2 separate regions of the Homo sapiens genome follow, and region 2 is linked to region 1. Evidence: promoter capture Hi-C in 16 types of primary human blood cells and fetal thymus (Javierre and others, 2016). All regions are on one chromosome and are shown on one strand. The core of a region is centred on a gene start or on the middle of the fragment in contact, and the rest is flanking DNA. Distances in the headings are between cores, read along the strand shown. Region 1 holds the start of PTPN2 (protein tyrosine phosphatase non-receptor type 2). Region 2 overlaps LDLRAD4 (low density lipoprotein receptor class A domain containing 4).

Region 1 (4,156 bases), core at 1,149-3,648:
TCATCAGCTTACCTATTTACAGGGCTGCATCCTTAAAAACTGGGACTCCTGTCTTTTAACAAGAATCCTCAGTGTCTAACACTAGCACATAACAAGCATGTTATGAACGAATGAATGAAAATATGGAACTACAATGAGGCCCCAAAAGAATAAGCCCTAGAGTGAGCACCTCGAGGGTAGGAAACTTGCCAGGAGCATTCTCTGCTGAATCCCCAAGGCCAGGAGCAAAAGCTGCAACTCCACTGGGGGTCCGGGCATATTTGTGGAATGGCTGAATGGATGTTCTAAGGCCACAGGAGAACACATAGCTCAAACTTCCTGACTTGCTTTCCATTACTAACTTTCTTGGTTTGTGACCTACTTTTACTGTAACACCAGTGTGCATGCCATGGTTTCTACTGACCAAACTAATGGTCTTGTTTTCAACTAGGAAAAAATAATATGAGCATTGACCAACCAAGGAAACTACAGGATTCCTCGGTAAGAATCTATAGAAGGATTTCCTTATCTTTTTGAAAATGCATGTGAAATCTCCAGTGGATGCGAGTTAAGTTCATTTTTCTGGAAAGAGGAATCACAATTCTCATTGAATTTTCAAGGATATTAATGATACCAAAGAAAATTAAATTTCTTAAACCAAAATGTTAAGCTGAATTAAGTTATATTCACTTTTCTCTTTTCAAATCTATTTCGATATATAACCTATCCCTTAGAGAGACAGCAGCCTCTGCTAAAACAAATGTAACTGGAGAAGATGCAGCTGGCAGGCTCTCTCACATGAAGATTCCTACCAGAATTTGCGTTTCAGATTGTCTATAATTGGAAGAGTCCTTACCAGCATTCTTTAAAACTTAGATCCCTATTCTAACATACTCTGTATCATGGGAATCAGAATATTTATACTTCCCACTAATGTGTTCAAGAAGAAAACGTTACTTTCTGAACACATTTTTCACTGCCATCTAATTAAATGGAAAGGGGAAAAACCCAGGATCATCCATTTACAGGAAAGCCCGTCTTTTACTTTACACAGAGAGAACCAAACATCAGAAGCAGCATTAACTTAACCGTCACCAAATTCAATCTTGGGAATAATACGACAAGGATTAAACGAAGGGGAAAGCAGTTACATCATTTTAAAAGAGATAAAGTTTTGTTTGAATTAAAAGGTAGTCTAGTTGACATAAAAAAAGCGAATCACAGGTGTTTATACTACATATTGCATCTATGTGAGCTGAACAGGCACGATTAGGGCGATAGGCATCGGAACACCGTGCCCCCGGGGAGGGGATGAGGGCACTTTCTCAGGGCAAGGAAAGGCTATTTTGATTTGAGGGGGCTTGCAAGAGGGGATTCATTTGTGACACCCGTCTGGGAGCACACATGAAAGCTGCGTTTCACTGTAGGGAAAGTATACCTCAGTAAGGAAAACTATAAAGAGAATGACACGCTATCACTGGACGAACACAAGCAAAGCCTCTTTCGTTCCGGGAAGGTTCTATGGGGGCCGAACCCACGCTGGGCGCTGCTGGGCCACGGGGGAAAATGAAGACGGAGGGTCCCGAGAGCGCTGCCCTCGCCAGAGGCCACGAGCCACCCCCAACCACCGCGGCTCCGCCAGGAGAGCGAGCTTCGCCTCGCAGAGGGCTGCGGCGGCCGGCCCGGCGCCCAGAGCGGCCTGCTCCCACAGGTCCTGCGCGGGCGCCAGCTGGACCCGGACGCCGCGGCCCGGCTCGCCCGCCCCCGCCCTCACCGCTCCCGGGGACGCCAGCTGCCCACCCGGCCACAAAACACCCGGCCAGAGAAAGAGCTGTCCGCGAGCAAGAACCAAGCACAGCGGCGTGGGAGCTACGGCGAAGCTGCGGCCCGGGGGCGCGCGCCCGAGCGCCCCCACGGCTTTCCCAAGGACCCCCAGACCCGGGCCGCGCAACGCTGGTGGCGCATCCACGCGCTCCCCAAGAAGCCGCTGTGGCACCGCCCTCCAGAACTAACTGCGCTTGCGCTAACCATGAGCTGCTCAGCTCAAGTATGCTTTTTTTTTTTTTTTTTTTAAACCAAAAGGAGCAAGAGAGCGGTCAGCGCAGGCGCGCCCCTGACGCGGACCGCGCCGCCACTTCCGCCCCGAGCGAGAGGCTAGAGGCGAGAGGCGGGGGAGGCGGGAGGGACCCTGCGGACAGGGCACGAGTCCGGGTCTCGGAGGAGGTCGGCGACTGCCGCGTGGGTCCGCGACTCACCAAGTACAGCGGCTGCCAGCGACGCTGAGTATCCAACTCTTCGAACTCCCGCTCGATGGTGGTGGGCATGGCTGCGGGAGCGAGCTGGCGCGAGCAGAGCCTGCGCCGGCGGAGAGGCTCAGGCCCCGCACGATCCGGGGAGAGCGCTGGCGCTGCGGCGCATGCGCGCTGCGCGCCGCGCCCCGCCCCCACGCCAAGCCCTGTCGGCCGTGGGGAAAGTACCTGGAGCGTCGGACGTCAGCGCGCAGACTCGGCGCCCGAGCGCGGCGCGAAGTCGGCGGCGGGGCGGGGCGGGGCGCTCGGGGGGCGGGGCTCGGGGTGCCCAGGTGGGAGGGGGCGGGGCCAGGGGACCACCCGGCGGCCGTGGTCCCTGCGCGCGGCACGAGGTGAGCCGCCCCTTGGGCTTGCGTCTTCCGACAAGAGAGAGGCGGTGGTCCGTGGGTAGCGCGGGGTTACTGGAATGGGACTCCCTGAGGAAGTCCCCTGAGAAGTCGCCGGCACGCTCCGCCTTCCTTCTTGCTTCCCATTTCTCGTTTTCTTCTCAGCCTTCATAGTTTTTTAAAGTGCTGTATTTGAATATTATTTTAAACATCATCTAGGTCAGATTAGCGGCCTGTGACCAACTTGGAAACAAATTCCTCATTCTTTTCTGCCCTGGTGTCAGCTCCTGTAAGCCTGCAGATTTTATGCCAAATAAACCGCTGGAGCAAAAGGAAAGGCAGCCAGCCTCTCCCGGAATTTGGGAGAGGGATACCTTGTTAAGAAAACGTTCTACAACTTACGAATTAGATTTAACTGTAAAAAATAGCACGTCCTCTTTTACCAAACAAACGTACTAGTTAGGGAAATCATCTTGCTTCAGATTTAAGATAGTTCTTTTTTAGTGCTTGTAATATCCTGCTATATAATCTTCATAAGAAACGTGAAGGGTTAGGAAAGGTTTAGCCGTGCTGTCCAGTATTGGGATTTAAATTTTAAATATTAACTTAATTCCTCAGTGGCACCAGCCACATTTCAGGTGTGCCATAACCATGTATGGCTAGTGGCTGCTATGTGGCAAAGTACATATGTAGAACGTTTCTATCATCGAAGACAGTTCTTTTGGACAGAGCCGGCCGAGAGGATTACAATACTTGGGGCAGAAAAGTGTCCTTAATCACATAAAATAATGAAAACCCTAGCCAGAAAAAAAAAAAAAAAAGTTGGCTACGGAAGCTAGAAGAAATCGTATTAACAAAAAAGCAGTCAGCAAGCTTTCTACTTACATAGTATGATTTAGAGATACAGGAAAGCTTCCCCCGAAAGACCCCACAATGTCTAATGGTCCTTGGTTCTGAAATTCTGTCATTGAATCTGATTATTTTGATTAAAGGCATGGTATCTCCCAGAATATCCTGTGAATGTTCGCATTAGTCTGCTCATCAGATTGCTTTCCAACCAAAAAATACTGTGTTCTACAAAGGAGGAGCATCTTTATCTCAAAGCAGCAGTTCTTATCGCCAAGTATTCAGCATCTCTTTGGAATTCATTTGTCAGCCTCTCTGGTTCCGGGAGCTGTATTTGCCTATCTTAGTTTGCTGAGTGCAGCGAAGAATCTAGAACAGTGGTTCTCACACCAGCATCATTTGCATCCAGTGTGAGCTTCTTTGAAATGCAAATTTGAAGGCCTCACCCCAAACTACTGAATCAGAATCTCTGGTGTTGGGGCCCCAGGAGACTACTTAAGCAAGCTCTCCTGGGGATGCCTGTGCCCCCCCAGAGTTTGAGAATGATTGCTCCAGAAGAATACCTATACAGGGCTGCACTGAAGCCCGGGGGTAAAAAGAAAACAGAGGTTAACTTGCTTCGAGATATCCTGCTGACAAGATATGACTTGGTCTCTCCGACATATGTGACTCCCAACCCAACTAGTTCCTAGCTTG
Region 2 (4,156 bases), core at 459-2,958, 750 kb after region 1:
TTGTTTTTTTAATCAAGGGAAATTTTTTAAAAGCTTCTCCACAATGGCAAATCTTCCTTTGCAAAGAGCAAATAGTTTTGCTCTTGGGGATAGATTTGATTTTTGGTACCAGCCAAAATCCATTTAGAGTTAAGTCTTGTTCATTATATGGGTGATCAAACCAAATGATACAATTTTGGTGCAAAGGCAAGCACGACTCAATTAGTGAGACTGACGTCCGAGTTACAAACTGATCTGTAGAGAAAGGTCAGGAAGGACCCACAGCAAACTGACAGCTGTGCCTGGGAAGGAAGTAAGGACAAAGGAACACTGATCTGTGCAGTAAAACTTTTATGGTAAGAATGTATTCATGTATTACCTTTGCAATTACAAAACATCCTCTGATCATGTAAACTGATGCTAAAGGCAGTAATGTTCTGGGCATCTATAGACTCCCAGAGTAATTCATTTGAACATGGTTTCTATGGTGGCTAAAATAATAATTTTAAATAAAATGTATGAACATTTTTATCAACAAATTTATAGTAATCTTTTAAATATATAAGGTATTAGCATTAATAATCTAATAGTAAAATCTGTTGGTTTATTTTTTGCTTAGTCCTTGAAAGTTGGTGTGGTTTGTTCTGAAAAAAAAAAAGAGAAGAAGATTAAAAATTATCTTAATGATCATAACTCTGGGTGGCCCCTGTTGGGGAGGCTCACCAGGCTGGGGTCTGGCTCTTGGCAAAGCCCCAGCAGCTCTGTGACCTTGGGTGAAGGTCACAGAAAATCCCCTCTGAGCTCTGACTTCTTCTCACATGTGAGACGAGGCAACTGGTGCTGAAATCAGGATGATGCCTGCCTGGATCTTGTGTGGTTCCACATTTTCCTGCTGCCTGGAACTTTCTCATTCCCAGGCTGATTCCTCTTGAAGTCCGATTGCTCACTAACCCCAGCACCAAGCTGGGAGAGGCACCTCATATTGCTTTTCCCCGCTAGCCCATTGCATTGTCCCAGAAATAGAAAGGATTCCCTTCCTTTTCTTCCAGCAGACCTTCCTAGATGATTTGTCTTTTCTCTTAAGGGACGTGCCCTAGATTGAGCAGAGTTGGGGGATCTTGAATCTGAGAAGTCTGATGATGGATTCCCCAGGAGGAAGAAAGGGGGAGGTGCAGTCTCTGACAGCCAGGGGTACTGGCCTCACATCCAGGCTGTGACTGCCATCTAGAGTGGAAAGGACGGTAGTGATAAAATATCAGGATGGTGGAGAGGCTGCATGAAAAAAGGGAGAAAACAGGGAAAATTGATTTTATCAGAAGGCAAAGGTGTTGCTGAATATCCAAAGATCAATTTCACCTCTTCTTTGAAATTCTCACTGTGGAACAGGGGAAAAATAGATTTCCAACTATTTGAGGCCATAAAATACATTCATTCACTGGGAGGTTAGCCCTTGGGTAGAATCAGAATACCCAGCAGTAGTCTTGCTTTACCGCAGACTGACCGAGGTGCCTAGAGAGGAATATGCCCTCTGTCCTCAGTTTCCCCCCATCTAAAATGAGGGATAACTGGCTTCATTCGGAGGCCTTCAATCTGTATCTTGCCATGAAGAACAGTAAGAAATACATTTTATATCACAACACAAAAGCCTCCTATAATGCAATTAAGGCAGAGGTTTTACAAAACAATACTTACAGTGTGCTCAGATCATTTCTGTTCTGTTTCAGTTTTTGGAATGCTGGCTGTGACCCACTTAAATGGATTTTCCAGCTCTCTAAGAGGCTGCAAAGCACATGGTGGAAAACACTGTGTTCAGTGCTCTCCCTGGTTGTTTCCAGTCCCCACATCTGATCATTCCTGGGGTCCTCTGTGTGTGTGTGGAAAGGAGAGTGTAGCTGAGAGCATAAGCCCAGCAGGGTTCGGGCGTGGTGTGGCCTTGCACACGTGGACGCATGGCAGCAGGCGACAGCCCATGGTGCAGCACAAGGGAACCCTCAGTAAGTCATGGCTGCAGACGACTGTCCTTTAATAATATGAGATGTACTGGTTGGAAGAAAAATGATCCAATAAATACAGAAATGAAAAGGATTATAAAATAGTGCTACGAACAATTGTATGCAAACCAATTGGATAACCTAGATGAAATGAAAAGATATTAGAAACAGCCTACCAAGACTGAATCATGAAGAAATAGAAAATCTTAATAGATCTATAGCTAGTAAGGAGATTGAACCAATGGTCTAAAATCTCCAACCTGGACCACATGGCTTCAGTGGTGAATTCTACCAAACATTTAAAGAATTGACATCAATCCTTCTTAAACTTCTAGAAATTTCAAGAGGTGGGAACACTTCCTAACTCATTATGAGATGAGGCCAGCATTCCTGATACCAAAGCCAGACAAAGACACAGCAGAAAAAGATAACCATAGACTAATATTTCTTATAAATATTGATGCAAAAGTCCTCAACAAAATACTAGCAAACTAAATTCAGCAGTATATTAAAAGGGTTATACTGGCTGCGCACAGTGACTCACACCTGTAATCCCAGCACTTTGGGAGGCTAAGGGAGGCAGATTACTTGAGGTCAGGAGTTCGAGACCAGCCTGGCCAACATGGTGAAACCTGTCACTACTAAAAATACGAAAATTAACCAGGCATGGGGGCACGCACCTGCAATCCCAACTACTCGGGAGGCTGAGGCAGGAGAATCACTTGACCCCGGGAGGCGGAGGTTGCAGTGACCTGAGATCGTGCCACTGTACTCCAGCCTGGAAGACAGAGCGAGACTCTGTCTCAAAAATAATAATAATACTAAATAAAAATTAAATTTAAAAAAGTAAAAGGATTATACATCATCAACAAGTGGGGGATTTATTCCCAGAAGGCAAGGATGGTTCCATACATGAAATTCAGTCAGTGTCATACACTACATTAACAGAATGAAGTTGGGGGTCCCAAACTTCATTCAGCAGGTCCCAAGTTCTTGTCCCACAATCATCTCAGTTGATGCAGAAATAGTATTGTCACAGGATCCTTAGGGTGTCACTTCGCCAGTCAGAAACCTTTGTGGCTGGTGGTGCCTTCTGCCTGAGTATTGCTCATGCCCACTGGGCTCATCCTGCCCACTTCCCCTGGCAGGCTGCGCTCAGCTCACGTTACTGGCCCAGATCCCACACCTGCCAAGGGCAAGCCAGGCACAGAATGGTGAGGGGTGTGTGAGCAAGTGAGTGCAAGGTCCAGCCACTGTGCACAGCCAGGTGCGCTGGTTGCTGCAGCAGGGCAGGCAGCTCCAGGTACTGGCACAGGTGCTTGCTCTGTGCAAGGCTGCAGCTGGACCAGATACACTGCATGCAGCATCCACTGCAGGCACTTGCGTCTGGATGAGGGGAATGTGATGGTACCCGGAAGCTTGGAGACACCAGGAACTGCAGAGTCCCAAAGATGGTGTCACAGCCCTGGCCAGGAGAACCCTAGGTCTGGGCTGCCCTAAGGGTCACAGCTCTTCTTTCCTTCTTGTCCCCCACAGTGTGGTGAGTGGAGGGGCATGTTTCAGCCCTGTTTATGTTACAGCTCTTTTAGTCCCACCATTCGGCCAGTCACAAGTTCTTGTCCCACATCCAAGAAGAATGAGGTACATGGACAACTGGTGGGTGAGAAGTTGGAGAGAAGCTTCATTGAGCAACAGAACAGCTCTCAGGAGACCCAGACTGGATAGCTCCTTTCTGTAGGCAGGTCATCCTGATGTCTGTCTGTCCAGCTCAGATCAGAGAGGAGACCCACAGTGGGTAGCTCCTTTCCCCAGACAGGTCATCCCAATGTCTGTCTGTCAATGGGTAGCTCCTTTCTGTAGGCAGGTCATCCTGACGTCTGTCCAGCTCAGAGCAGAGAGGAGACCCATAGAGGGTAGCTCCTTTCCCCAGACAGGTCATCCCAATGTCTGTCTGTCAATGGGTAGCTCCTTTCCTCAGGCAGGTCATGCCAATAAGTGTCTAGCCGTCAGTGGAGAGGAGACCTGCAGTGAGTAGCTCCTATCCACAGGCAGGTTGATCCGATGTCTGTTCAAGTCAAACTGAATCCAGGATTTTTAATGAGCTCAAAAGGGAGGAAGTGCATGCTGATTGGTCCATGGACGGCCACAGGCAGGCCCAGAAAAAGCATCCTAAGTTCTTACTCTGG

The links. Contacts are between HindIII fragments. The CHiCAGO score rates a contact against its expected background, and 5 or more counts as called.
Region 2: a fragment that was not itself captured here is called in contact with the fragment with the promoter of PTPN2 in region 1 in 1 of 17 cell types (fetal thymus); the score reaches 5.8 in fetal thymus.

The regions. Positions count from the first base shown.
Region 1 is chr18:12,881,839-12,885,994 of GRCh38, forward strand. PTPN2 (protein tyrosine phosphatase non-receptor type 2) reads right to left here and starts at 2,399. Exons shown (of 9, transcript NM_002828.4): 1 at 2,235-2,399. The coding sequence starts at 2,303. RefSeq lists silencers at 1,602-1,941, 2,322-2,611, 3,971-4,020. The HindIII fragment of the contact is 3,601 bases long and covers 1-3,485 here.
Region 2 is chr18:13,629,152-13,633,307 of GRCh38, forward strand. The region is part of intron 5 of LDLRAD4 (low density lipoprotein receptor class A domain containing 4); the gene reads left to right. Among named protein-coding and RNA genes, the nearest start is that of MIR4526, 20 kb to the left of the region's middle. The HindIII fragment of the contact is 3,355 bases long and covers 32-3,386 here.